2 separate regions of the Homo sapiens genome follow, and region 1 is linked to region 2. Evidence: promoter capture Hi-C in 16 types of primary human blood cells and fetal thymus (Javierre and others, 2016). All regions are on one chromosome and are shown on one strand. Each heading gives the region's core, a stretch centred on a gene start or on the middle of the fragment in contact. The rest is flanking DNA. Distances are from core to core; before and after follow the strand shown. Region 1 overlaps CYP4F22 (cytochrome P450 family 4 subfamily F member 22). Region 2 holds the start of AKAP8 (A-kinase anchoring protein 8).

Region 1 (6,955 bases), core at 1,445-3,944, 170 kb after region 2:
ATGATATTATAAGGAGATAATGCACTTTTCTTTTCTTTCTTTTTTCTTTTTTTCTTTCTTTCTTTTTTTGAGATAGGCTCTCACACTGTGGCCCAGGCTGGAGTACAGTGGCATGATCATAGCTCACTACAGCCTCCTGAGTAGCTGGGACCACAGGTGTGTGCCATCATGCCCAGCTAATTTTTTAACTTTTGGTAGAGATGGGGTCTCTCTTTGTTGCCCAGGCTGGTCACGAACTCCTGGGCTCAAGTTATCCACTTGCTTCGGCCTCCCAAAGTGCTGGGATTACAGGTATGAGCCACCATGCCTGGCCTGCACCAGTTTTTTTTTTTTTTTTTTTTTTAAGACAAGAGTCTCACTCTGTCACCCAGGCTAGAGTGTAGTGGTGCAATCTCATCTCACTGCAACCTCCGCCTTCCGGGTTCAAGCAATTCTCTTGCCTCGGCCTCCCAAGTAGCTGAGACTACAGGTGCACGCCACCACACCCAGCTAATTTTTGTGTTTTTTAGTAAAGATGGGGTTTTGCTATGTTGGCCAGACTGATCTTGAACTCCTGACCTCAGACGATCGCCCATCTCAGCCTCTGCAAGTGCTGGGATTACAGGCGAGAGCCACCACACCTGTCCTGCAGCAGTTTTTTAAGTACAGAAATGGACCATATAAACTGGCATATTGCTGTTGCCGTGAGTCCCCTTGGCTGTCCTGGCACCTCGCCTAGGTGCCCCTGGACCTCCACATAATTCATCAATTAAAGGCTTAATGCTGGGCCCAGCAGAGGGCCCAGTGCTAGTGCTGTTCTGAGCGGTTGGTGCTCAGATACTTTGCATCCTAAGTATTAGTACTGGCCGGGCACTGTGGCTCACGTTTGTAATCCCAGCACTTTGGGAGGCCGAGGTGGGTGGATTGCCTGAGGTCAGGCGTTTGAGACCAGCCTGGCCAACATGGAGAAACCCTGTCTCTACTAAAAATACAAAAATTAGCCGGGTGTGGGTGCGCATGCCTGTAATCCCAGCTACTTGGGAGGCTGAGGCAAGAAAATTGCTTGAACCTGCAAGGCTGAGGTTGCAGTGACCCGAGATGCGCCACTATGTTCTAGCCTGGGCAACAAGAGCGAAACTCGGTCTTAAAAAAAAAAAAGAAAGAAAAAGGAAAAGAAAAAACAAAAAAACCACTAAATATTAGTACTTCCCACCTGTGCATGAGACAACTGCAAATGGCAGAAATTGGGGCAAGTCTAAAATCCTGGACTGGTTTCTTGCCCAGCTGCCCCTGAGAGAGAGAGAGAGAGAGAGAGAGAGGGAGAGAGTGTGTGTGTGTGTGTGTGTGTGTGTGTGTGTGTGTGTGTGTGTGTGTTTTGGGGAGGTGGTGCCATGGTGGCTCGGCCTCTAGTTATATCTCCATTCTCCCCAGGGACGATCTGACTCAGCTGCCCTTTACAACTATGTGCATTAAGGAGAGCCTGCGCCAGTACCCACCTGTCACTCTTGTCTCTCGCCAATGCACGGAGGACATCAAGCTCCCAGATGGGCGCATCATCCCCAAAGGTGCCTACCATGTTCCGCCTGCTGCTGGTGCACTGCCTCCAATGATGTAGCTGCTCTATTGTCCACAGGGGCCTGGCTATGCCTGCCCCAGGTGCACTATCCCTGCAGATGGGATAGCTCTCTGTGTGCCTGTTGCTTCTGGGGTGTTGGAGAAAACCCAGTTGTGTGTGCAGGGAGATAGAGCCGGGTGAGTCCAGGTGGAAAGGAAGGAGGCAGTGTCGCAGGGATGGGCCTGTGAGGGTGCAGTTGGGGAGGGTCAGTTTCATTCAGTTGCCAGTTACTCCCTGGAGACCAAGCCCTGCCTTGGTTGATACAGGGGACCCTGGCTCAGGTTTTGAGTATTGCCCTTTCTGGGGGAGATACAGCAGGGTGCAGACATTCCCAGGCGTATGGAATCAGGAATGGGCTAAAGGGAGAGACAGGGGCTGGAGTAGCTCCAATATGGAGAGGAATGCAGGGAGGGCTGCCTGGAGGAGGGAATGTGGGAGGTGAGGCTTGGAGTGTGGAAGTGAAAGAGTGAGCATGTTTATGGAGTAGAGCCTCAGGATGCAGATTTTGAAAGGCCTTGAGTGCCAGGTGATGGCGCTTGAACTCAATCCTGGGGGCAGCAGGGAGCCAAGGTAGGTGTTTGAGCTGAAGAGGAGCAATGTCAGATCTGCGAGTAAGAAAGATCCCTATGTGGCCAGCTTGGCAGCCAGAAAGAAGATGATAGGTTCCTCTTAGGGAAAGGTGGGAAGAGTGGATGGGGCAGCAGAATTTTTTAGAGAAGGATGGACAGAAGGTGGTGGCAGATGGCTCATGGGAACATCATGGCTCTAGGGAGACCCAAGTTGGGGGATGTTTCTGGAGGAGGCCCTGGCTCCCCTTGGCCCCACTGATCCCATCTTTCCCCACAGGAATCATCTGCTTGGTCAGCATCTATGGAACCCACCACAACCCCACAGTGTGGCCTGACTCCAAGGTGAGTGCCTGCCCCACTCCTCCCTGCCCTCAGGTCCTCCCCTCCCCTGCGCCCCAGGGAGCCAGCGAGCAGGGCTGGTTGCAGGGCCTGAGTGCGCACACCCCTCCCCACTCCGCATTTAGCCATTTATTCACCCACTGATTGTTAATTCATTAGGGCAGAAAATATTTATTGAGCACCTACTGTGTGCCAGAGTGTGTGCTGGGCTCTGAAAATAGAGGATGATACTGTCTTTGCCTTTACAGGGCTCACAGTGAAGTTTTGGGGAAGACAATAAGCAAATAAATAAGATTTTGGGTATTGATACATGCACAAAAGAAAGAAAAACTGGGCCAGTTCCGGTTTACAGGTGCAGTGGCTCACACTTGTAATCCCAGCACTTTGAGAGGCTAAGGTGGGAGAATCGCTTGGGCCCAGGAGTTTGAGACCAGCCTGGGCAACACAGCGAGACCCCCCATCTCTACCAAAAAGGAAAAAGTTGGCCCAATGTGGTGGCTTGTGTCTGTAATCCCAGTGCTTTGGGAGACCAAGATGGGAAGATTGTTTGAGGCCAGAAGTTCCAGCTCAGCCCAGCCTGGGCAACACAGTGAGACCCCATTTCTAAAAAAAAAAAAAGTTAGCCAGCCATGGTGATGCACATCTGCAGTGCCAGCCACTCGGGAGGCTGAGGCAGGAGGATCGCTTGGGCCCAGCAGTTTGAGGCTGCAATGAGCTATGGTTATTTATTTATTTATTTATTTGAGACTGGGTCTTGCTCTGTTGCCCAAGCTGGAGCGTGTGCAGTGGTGCGATCTTGGCTCACTGCAACTTCTACCTCCTGGGTTCAAGAGATTCTCCTGCCTCAGCTTTCTGAGTAGTTGGGATTACAGGTGTGTGCCACCATGCCTGGCTAATTTTTTTGTATTTTTAGTAGAGATGGGGTTTCACCATGTTGGCCAGGCTGGTCTTGAACTCCTGAGCTCAGATGATCCATCTGCCTTGGCCTCCCAAAGTGCTGGGATTACAAGCGTGAGCCACCGCGCCCAGCCTGCAATGAGCTATGATCGCGCTTCTGCACTCCAGCCTGAGTGAGACTCTGACTCTAACAAACAAACAAACAAACAAAGACAGACAAACAAACAAAAAAAAAGAAAAACAGGTGGAGGGGGCACTTTAGCTCGAGTGGTTATGAAAGGCCTTGCCGAGGAGATGTTTGAGCTGAGAACTTAGGGGATGAAGGATCAGGGAGAAGCCTGTTCTAGGCAGAGGAAACAGCAAGTGCAAAGGCCCTGAGGTGGAATCTCACTGGTGCGTGTGAACAACAGAAGGAGGCAGGTGTGGCTGCATTGCAGGAAGTGCAAGGTGGAATGGAAGAGGTGGCCCTGGGGTGCTCCCCATCCATCTTTACTGACCCCCAGAGGCTCAGGGAAGGGGGCCAGGCTGGGATGTCTGGGGCAGCCCCCAGACTCATCTCCAGGCTGTTCCTCCCTAGGTGTACAACCCCTACCGCTTTGACCCGGACAACCCACAGCAGCGCTCTCCACTGGCCTATGTGCCCTTCTCTGCAGGACCCAGGTAACCCCTCTATTTCCCCTAGTCCAAGCCAGCTGTGTAGGAACAGAGGCAGGGAAAGATCAGGAATGTGCCTCTCAGGAGCAGAGATCAGATGGCACCCAGGCGTCCTTTCTGAAGACCCAGCACCCTCTCCCCAATGCGCCAGGAGGCCCCCAAATCAGACTCTGCAATAGCATCCTGGGTATTGAGCACCAACGGTGTGTCAGGCCCTGAGTTCTGGGCTCCCACGCTCCCATTGGCTCTATGATGCCTTTGTCCCCGTTTTTACAGATGAAGGAACTGAGACTCAGAGGGGGCGCTGTGTATCCAGGACACACAGCTAGTAAGAGGCTGTACTGGGATTCAGACACTCAACCCCAAGGTCACATTAATTGAGCGATCCGTGGGGTCTCACTTTAACCCTCACCCAGCGTGGGGTTTCACTTTAACCCTCAGCCAGCCCAGGATGCTTGCTTCATTTTCAAAGGAGGCATGTGACCCCCGGGGACCAGTGCTCACACAGAAGCTGGGCCTGAGCCCTGTCCCCTCTTCCTCCAGGAATTGCATCGGACAGAGCTTCGCCATGGCCGAGTTGCGCGTGGTTGTGGCACTAACACTGCTACGTTTCCGCCTGAGCGTGGACCGAACGCGCAAGGTGCGGCGGAAGCCGGAGCTCATACTGCGCACGGAGAACGGGCTCTGGCTCAAGGTGGAGCCGCTGCCTCCGCGGGCCTGAGCGTGGGCGCGCCCCTGCGGCTCCCGAGGGTCCAGGCCCCGCCCCCAAAGGACCAGGACTCGCCCCAAAGATCCCGAGGGCATAGGCCACCCCCCTCGAAGTTCAGGTTCAGCTCCTGGATGACCAGGCACCGCTGTTGAGCAGCCTGGTGGTACTGGCCACGCCCCTCAAGGCAAGGCTCCTCCCCTTAGGGGGCCTGATCCCGCCCCTTGAGGCTTAGGTCCCGCCCCCTGACTTCTCGCACCTGTCCTGTTTGAGGGACCAGGGTCGACCCTGCCCCCTTGGGCTCAGGCCCCGCCCCCAGGATCCTACGGATTGAGGTCCTCAGGCCACGCCCCTGCAGATCCAGGTCTCCAGGCCTTGCCCACTGAGCCTTCAGAGGACCTAAGACCCACCTATGACTCAGGGCCCACCACACCCCACCCCCCCCCAACTGGCTGAACCCCTGGCAGGCTTCCAAACTGAGGAAAGCTGGAGCCTGACGTCAGAGCTTTTAACTCGGACATCACCCTCCTGAGGCCCTCAGCTCATACGGGCAGACTGCTCAGGCGTGAGGCTGGATCGTAGGGTTCGAGGCTGCTTGCTTTTGTTGTTGTTTTGTAAACTCAGACCCTTGTAAGCCCCTTCCTTCCTCCCTTGCCCAAAGATCCTTTGCTGAGTGTTCTGTTTTTGCAGAATAAAAGCAAAGGATGCAGACTTACCCCACCCTCCACCCCTAGCTCAGCCAGATCCTTACACGTGGAGCCCCCAGCATGGGAATGAGGGGCTCTGCAACTGAGCGAAGCTGCGGGCTAGGAGGCTGGAAAGCCATTTATCCTAGGACATAAACTCAGATTTTGGGGGTCAGTTTGTGTGTTCATTTATTTCATCAACAGATCACATATTGTTTGCTGGCACTGCTTCAGAACCACAGGCAGGCCCTGTTTTCTGCCTTCTTAGGGGGTGGGGGACAGATGTTGAACAAATAATTCCACGTGTAAAGGTTTATTTACAACCCAGGACAGGTGCTCCAAAGGAGAGGCCCCGGGTGCTGGATGAATATAGCAGAGGGATGGGGATGGGTCAGGGAGAGCTTCTCCGATGCTGGAATGGAAGTTGAGTGGGTGACAAGGGGAGGGAAGAGTATTCCAGGCAGAAGGAACAACATCTGAGAATACCCTGAGCTGAGGGAGAACAGAGTGTGTTTGAGGAACTCACCAGGGGCCAGGTGGTTGGATCTGGGAAGTGGGGGCAGAATGAAGGAAGGGGCCAAATGCACAGGCTTTATGCTGAGGGCAATAGGGAGCCATGGAGAGTGTGTGAGCGGGATCAGGACAGGACATGGCCAGATCTAGGGCTGGCAGGGAGGTGACTTGCGGGGTTGGGACCCTGGGAAAGAGGGAAGCTGAGGTCCAGACAACAGGAAGGGCCAGGATTGGGGTGACTATCTAGCAGTGGGGGCTGAGGGGAGGGAGGTGGTAAGGGTGATGCTCAGGTATTTGGCTGAGGGAACTTGATGGTAGAGTAGTCCCTGATATGGGAATATAAAAGATGGGGGCCAGGCGTGATGGCTTACACCTGTAATCCCAGCACTTTGGGAGGCTGAGGCTGGAGGATTGCTTGAGACCAGGAGTTAGAGACCAGCCAGGGCAACACAGTGAGACTCCATTTCTACAAAAAATAAAAAATTAGCCAGGTGTGATGGTGCACATCTGTAGTCCCAGCTACTTGGGAGGCTGAGGCAGGAGGATCACTTGAGCTGAGGAGTTTGAGGCTGCAGTGAGCTATGATCACACCACTGCACTCCAGCTGGGGCAACAGAGCAAGACCCTGTTCCAAAAACAAACAAACAAAAAAAGGTGGGCAATGACAATGTCAGCAATTTTATACATATAAAATGCTACACTAAAGGAAAATGATACTGCTATTATACCACATATATAATATATATATATGCACTATATATGCCATCATTATATATATAGTGGTGGTATAATAGTGGTATCATCTTCCTTTTAGGTAGCATTTGCCTGTAGACTATTTCCATCTAGGTCACTAGAGACAATAATATTAATTCAACAGGCCGGGTGCGGTGGCTCATGCCTGTAATCCCAGCACTTTGGGAGGCTGAGACAGGTGGATCACCTGAGGTTAGGAGTTTGAGACCAGCCTGGCCAACATGGTGAAACCCTGTCTCTACTA
Region 2 (6,939 bases), core at 1,436-3,935:
AGTTCAGTGCCAGCCTTAGAAGAAGGAAGACTCCCCCCCACCCCACCAAAAAAAAGCCATCACACAACTGGCTAATGGCGTCATCGCATTCCACCTGGCTGAGATCAAAGCAGAAAAAGAAGGGTGGGAAGTGGGCTTGGAAGTCAGCTCCGCCCTGCAGAGGGACCTTGGCCAAGGACCTCACCTCTCCAAGATTTCATCCACAACTGAGGCTAACACAAGACAATCCACTCAGCATGAGGACACGTTCCCCCACCCACCACACAGCTAGGAAACCAGTTCAGAGTGCCATCACAAGTACTTCGTAACTGAAAACAAGCATGGGAATTTAGTGACATAAATTGCATCTTTCTAAGCTGCACTTCCTGCCACTTTTTGTTTTTTTGAGGCGGGGTCTTGCTCTGTTGCCCAGGTTAGAGCGCAGTGCCGCGATCTCGGCTCACTGCAAGCTCCGCCTCCTGGGTTCACGCCATTCTCCTGCCTCAGCCTCCCGAGTAGCTGGGACTACAGGCGCCTGCCACCACGCCCGCCTAATTTTTTGTGTTTTTAGTAGAGACGGGGTTTCACCATGTTAGCCAGGATGGTCTCGATCTCCTGACCTCGTGATCCGCCAGCCTCGGCCTCCCAAAGTGCTGGGATTACAGGCGTGAGTCACCGCGCCAGGCCCTTCCTGCCACTTTTAAGGCCTCCACGGATCCCCTGGACCTTTAAGTCCCAGAGCCTTCGCCTGGCCCTAAGGCATCAGACAGCACTCTTCACCCCTCCACACCCCCCGCCCACTATGGCATCTGTCTGGTCCCTCCAGGAAGGAGAATGGGAACTGTGTTCTCTTTATTTCTGTGTCCCTGGGGCCCAGCACTGAGCTGCGCGCGGGTGGCCACCATGCCTGTTAAATGACTTCACTTTGATGAGGCAGGAACATATCCATGTCTCCCTCACCAGAACAACTCCCCCGCCCCCGGCTAAGTGCCTAGTGCGTGCCGATACACCGCAAGCACCCAGCAAACCCTGTTGTCCGGAATGCCATTCAGAGACAAGGGAGCTAGGCTCATGGGTTACGAGACTTGACCCAGTCATACTGCTGAGTTTTGCCCTCTGCTATGCTACGCCTTCCCCTCCGTCATACCGCAAAACCTTCTAAATTCGCATCCGTGCAGCAGAAAGGCAGACTGCAGATTCCAACAGCAAGTAACCAACCTCGAGAGACTGCTTCTCTGTGAAGCTCTAGTGTAAGTGGCACGCACTATTAACCTTAAAACGCTCCCGGAAACACAAGAAATCAGGGAAGCTTAACTATCTCCAGTGTGTCTGAAAGGTTTTCGGCAGGTAGGAAGAGGGGGTAAAAAAAACCTCTCCAAACTAAGAATGAAAAGAAGGAATACAATACCTGCAGAAAAGATCTGATGGGAAAGAAGGGAAAGAATGGTGAAATCTACCCAGGCTGCGGAAGACCAGGAGAGCCAGGCTGAGCCTTCGCTAGGACCCGGAAGACACCAAAGCACACCGCGCACGCTGCCGCCTCAGGACCGAAACCTCTCTCTGCAATTTCTGGTGCTGGGATACTTTTGCCCTGCCACTTCTCAAGATCGACAACTTCTCGAGCTCCTGCAGCCAGGATCAGACCACTAGCTTCTCTACAACCAGTCGAGCTCCACCCAGCATGTCCCAACTATCCCCTGTGGGCAAACTTTGCTCCCAAAAGGCTCTGATTCCAGAAGCAGGGAGCAGGCAGCTCGAGAAGATCGGCCCTACTGCAGGCCAAGCGCTAAATCCTAGTGGGGAAAGGACACGTTCCCTCCTGCACAGCCCCTCGGCCCCTCCAGGCCACCACAACAGACTGCCTAAAGGAGAACTGCCAATGTCACCAGCCCCAGGGCACATCAGGTTTCCAGCTTTATACGAACACTCAGCATCTGCCCCTCACCATCCTGTCCCAAGCCAGCACGCGCCGGGTACAGAGCTGGAGCCCGGCGAGGCTGACTCTCGCGCCGGCAGCACTCGGCCCCACCGCGCTGCACCGGGGACTAAAGGCCCGACCCCGCGCAGCCCGACGGCTTCCGGGACAGGCGCCCTGGGCCACGTGAGCCCAGCGGAGACCCTACACGGCCCCGCGGGCCTAGGGCAGGTCGGGAGAGAGGCGGCCCCCGCGGTCCGCCCGCGGCCCCAGACCCAGCTCCCCGGGTCCGACCTCACAACCCCACGCTGTAGCTCCGCCCCCCTAGCGCCGCCATTTTGTGGCGTCTTCGGAAGAGGAAGCCGGGAGTGCAAACCCCGGGGTCGCTGGGGGCCGGAAGGACTCCGCCGAAGGTGAGGGGCAAAAACGGCCCACACTGTCTAAGACGCCCCCACGAAGCCCACCGCGGCGTCTGCCCCAACCCCGAGTCCCGCCCGCCTCCTCGGGGCCTGGCGGCCAATCCGCACGCAGAGCCCCGGGAGCGACGGCGCCAAAGCCCAATGAGCGGCGCGCGCGCGCCCTGGCCGCCTCTCCGGAGGGCCCAGCTGGGGCAACCACGCTCGGGACGAAGGCCCGGCCGGCGGCAGTCTGCGCAGCGGCTGCGTCGCCCGCACAGAGCCTTCCCTCCCCGCTCCGCACCCAGCAGCCAACACAAACCTCCGTAGCCCTGGTCCATGTCTTCGACGCGGCCCACCAGCAGCCCCGTTTACTAGGCGACCACAGCACGCATGCGTTCAGCGCACCTCCGCCATCGACTACTGGAAGACCAGGCGCACACGTCACTACTTCCGCGCGCCCCCATTGGCTGGTCTTCACGAGGGCCCGCCCTCGCCGTCCCAGCTGGCCTTTCGGGCTGCTACGATCCAGCTCCGTGGCCTAATGGGAGTTGTGGTCCCACCGCGGTGCCCGACGGCCCGGCCCGCGCGCATGCGCACCCCGCCCCTCTGCCCACCCCGCCCCGCCCGCGCGGCACAGTAACAGAGAAACCCGGAGGTGGGATGGGAAAACTTTATTAGGTTTGGTTTCCAGCTTCGGCCACGCGGGCTCCGCCCGCCCCGAGCTCGGGTCACGGGGCGCCCCCGCCGCCCTCCTCGTCGTCCTCCACGTCGAGGCCCGGGATGCCGCGGATCTGGCGTTGCAGCGCCCCTCCCAGCAAGGGCACGGCGCCCTCCTCCTCCTCCTCTGGGGGCGGCGGCGGTGGCGGCGACACGGCCCCGGGGGCTGGCTCTGGGGGCACGGGAGGCTGCGCCGGCACGCCCTCTGCGCCCTCCGAGATCCCTGCCGCTTCGCCCTGCGCCCCCTCGTCCAGGGCACCGCCCTCAGCCTCCTCCTGCTCCTTCTCCTCCTCGGGGCTGTCGGTGAAAGGGTTCTCGCCCTGTGGGGAGGGGCGCGGACACTGAAGGGAGGGAGCACAGGCGGGGACTAAGCTGGGGACAGGGCAGGCCCGGACCAGTGCCTCACCTTCAGGTAGCGCTCCAGCTTCTTGCTGATGAGCTTGTTGTTGAGAATACTGCGGGCCACCATGAGGGAGGACTTCTTGGACTGCTCCATCATGAGCTGCGGGCAGGGCAGAAGGAGCTGGAGAGGCTGCTCTGAGTGCCCTACAAGTTGCTGCCCCGACCCTGCCAGCTTAGAGGGACCCCACCCCGCCCCTGCACCCACGCACTTCCAGCCCCACCAACGGAGGGCCACTCCACAAGCATGGAACCACAACCTATCTGATCTTTGTTCAAATTCCCTCTCCTTCCACACCACACTTACTGTAGGTAAATAAAAATACAGATCTATATATCTCTAACTTTACGGCTGTATTACAGAAATCTGATTTGCTTACAAAAAAGCTATAAGCAGTGAACAATTAAGAAACTAAGAGCCAAAGGTGGGTGCAACCTGTAACAAGGTGCCAACTAGGCTAATAGGCAAGGAGCACTTTGGGGCCAACGGGGAAGATATAAAAACAGGAACAGATATTTAATGAAACGTCTTTTTTAACCCACAGAATTCCAAGAATGAAGAATTATTCCCAGTCATGCAAGGGTGAAGAGAGTCTTCTCTGCTGGTGGGAGGATCAACTGTTTCCGTATTTTTTGGAAAGCAGTTTGACACAATGTATGAAAAGTAAAAATCTGTCTCATTAATCCCTTCCCAGAACGTATCCTAAATTTAAGAACTGGAAACATGCGTGCACACTGATTGTAGTGGTGAAAAATGGGAAAACACCTAAACGTTCCTCAGTGCAGAAGAGGTTAAATAAATCGTACATTCAAAAGAACATCATGCAGCCCTTCAAATCGGGCTCATCTCTGCACTGGCATAAGAAAGGTGTATAATATAGTACTGTCTGCAGAGCATGCCAGAGCCATTTTGTCTGGAAGGATTTCCATCAATATGCTGGGCCATCTCATGGTGGGAGTACAGGCAAATCTCACTTTGATCATTATAAAAACCATAAGGTAAAAGAAGGATATTTTTGGTGGGGTGGGAGAGCCCATTGAGTCCTTCCCACTCCATTTACATGTTTCAGAAAGCCTTCTCACTTGCTGTTTCTACTCTCTCCATCTTCATTTTTTTTTTTCCTTAGCACGTTTTCTCTACTACTGGAGGAAAATATTAACAGACATCATACATGCTCACAATAAACTAAAGATACACAATTAGGATACTACTATAGACCGTTCCCCCAGTGACTCTCACTTGCCAACAGTTTATCCTCCTGGTTCTAGATGCCCAGATAACCACACCATAAATTCTCCCAAGTGAGGCACATTTATGTTGCTTCCAGATCTTCTCCACAATAACCCAGCAACACTAGAATAAACTTGTACACTTCCATGCTGGTGCTTTTCATTCTAACCAGGTTTGGTTTCAAAGTGATAGTGCCCAATTAACTGCAGAACATTTGCAAGTCATGCTTCTTCCACCTGTGTTAAAACAATGACCTGGTCCTCCTGCCTGCCCATCAGCACTGGATGTTGTCACTGTTGGGTATTTTTGCTGTGGATAAAAGACAGAAGAATCTGTGCTGCTGCCTCCCACGGCATTTCCCTGCCCACCGGCGAGTGAGTGCTCTGGTAAGCACACTGGAACACCCGCCCACAGTTTATAATTTTCTAACTATTTTCTGATCTTGGTTTTCATTTTTCACATTTAAATTTTTTTTTTTTTTTTTTAAGACAGTCTCGCTCTGTCGCCCAGGCTGGAGTGCAGGGGCTCTCAGTTCACTGCAACCTCCGCCTCCCAGGTTTAGGCAATTCTCATGCCTCAGCCTCCTGAGTAGCTAGGACTACGGGCACGCACCACCACACCCAGCTACTTTTTTGTATTTTTAGTAGATACAGGGTTTTCCTATGTTGCCCAGACTGGTCTTGAGCTCCTGAGCTCAGGACCTCCACCCATCTCGGCTTCCCAAAGTGCTGTGATTACAGGCGTGAGCCACCACGCCCAGCCAAATTTTCTAGAATTTGATACAGATTGAGTATCCCTTATTCAAAGTGCTTATGACCAGAAGTCTTTCAGATTTTGATTTGCATTATACTTACCAGTTGAGCATCCCTACTCCAAAAACCCAAAATCTGAAATGCTTCAATGAGCATTTACTTTGTCATGTCTGTGCTGAAAAAGTCAGATTTTACTGGGCACAGTGTCTCGTGCCTGTAGTCTCAGCTACTCTCATGAGGCTGATGCAGGAGGATTGCTCAAGTTCAGGAGTTCAAGGCTATAGTGTGCAATGATTTCACTTGCGACCAGCCACTGCACTCCATCCTGCACAACATGGCAAGACTCAATTCTTTTTTCTTAAAGAAAAAGGTTTTGGATTTCGGAGCATTTCGGATTTTCAGATGACGGATGAACTCAATCTGTATATGTTATGAGGTAGAGGGTCCAAAATTTTCTTTTCCAGAAATGTACAAAACACACCATTTATTTCCCTACCAAATTGGCATATAGGTCTACCATCCCTTATCTATAAACTGGAAATCCAAAAGGCTCTAGAAAACAAGTCTTCCCCCAAAATTCATTTGGTGGCTAAATGTGAACTGACATTACATTTTTCATTTATATGTAAGTCATGTGAAGAATTATTTGTGACTCAACTACAAGGCGCTTTCCCCAGATCCTGTTGGAGAGGTTAGTGCTAATACCATATTGTCTTTCTTTTTATTTTATTTTAGAGATAGGAGTCTCACTCTGTTGCCCAGGCTGCACTGCCATTGTGTGATCACGGCTCACTGCAGCCTCAAACTCCTGGGCTCAAGTGATCTTCCCATGCTAGCCTCTTGAGTAGCTGGGACTATAGGCACTCACCACCATGCTTGGCTAATTTTTTATTTTTTGTAGAGACGAGATCTCACTATGGTCAGGAACTCCTGGGCTCAAGCAATCCCACCTAAGCCTCCCAAAGTGCTGGGATTGCAGGTGTGAGCCACTGCCCCCAGCCTTGCATATTGGTTTTCTGAAGCTGAAAAATTAATTCTGAGGCTTCTGGCCCTAAGGTTTCAGATAAAATATCTGTACTAACTTTAACAAATTACTAAGTCTGAAATATACTGAGATCTTTTGCTAGACTCTCTATTCTGGTTCCACTGTTTCATTACTGTGCTAATTATCACTTTTTTTGTTTTTTAATTGCAGCAGCTTTGTAGTAAGTTTTAGTATTTCTGAAATCAATCTCTCAGCTATTGTTAGACTGAATTTTACAATGTAAAACTTTAAAATAATTTCATTTCATTCAGTCCTACTCCCCGACTGATATTTTTGACTAGAAATGTGCTGTCTATATTAATTTGGAGAGAACTGGTTTTTGTTTTGTTTCACTATTAAATTGCCTATTTAAGAACACAGAACATTCCTCCATTCATTAAGGTCTATTTCTTTTTTTTTTTTTTTTTTTTTTTGAGATGGAGTCTTGCTCTGTTGCTCAGGCTGAAATGCAGTGGCATGATCTCAGCTCACTGCAACCTCCACCTCCAAGGTTCAAGCAATTC

Evidence for each region. The method cuts DNA at HindIII sites, captures the fragments that hold promoters and counts their contacts. A CHiCAGO score of 5 or more calls a contact.
Region 1: a contact is called between a fragment that was not itself captured here and the fragment with the promoter of AKAP8 in region 2, in 1 of 17 cell types (activated CD4 T cells). The highest score is 5.1, in activated CD4 T cells.

What each region holds. Positions count from the first base shown.
Region 1 is chr19:15,546,698-15,553,652 of GRCh38, forward strand. It overlaps CYP4F22 (cytochrome P450 family 4 subfamily F member 22), which reads left to right. Exons shown (of 14, transcript NM_173483.4): 11 at 1,411-1,544; 12 at 2,441-2,505; 13 at 3,977-4,059; 14 at 4,597-5,620. The coding sequence ends at 4,774. Among named protein-coding and RNA genes, the nearest start is that of CYP4F22, 42 kb to the left of the region's middle. RefSeq lists a silencer at 4,869-4,918. The HindIII fragment of the contact is 9,249 bases long and covers 1-6,955 here.
Region 2 is chr19:15,377,102-15,384,040 of GRCh38, forward strand. It overlaps AKAP8 (A-kinase anchoring protein 8), which reads right to left and starts at 2,686. Exons shown (of 14, transcript NM_005858.4): 1 at 2,612-2,686. The coding sequence starts at 2,630. It overlaps AKAP8L (A-kinase anchoring protein 8 like), which reads right to left. Exons shown (of 14, transcript NM_014371.4): 13 at 3,416-3,511; 14 at 2,949-3,329. The coding sequence ends at 3,021. RefSeq lists enhancers at 1,827-2,742, 2,677-2,971, 2,743-3,657 and silencers at 1,932-2,481, 2,822-3,311. The HindIII fragment of the contact is 7,918 bases long and covers 1,287-6,939 here.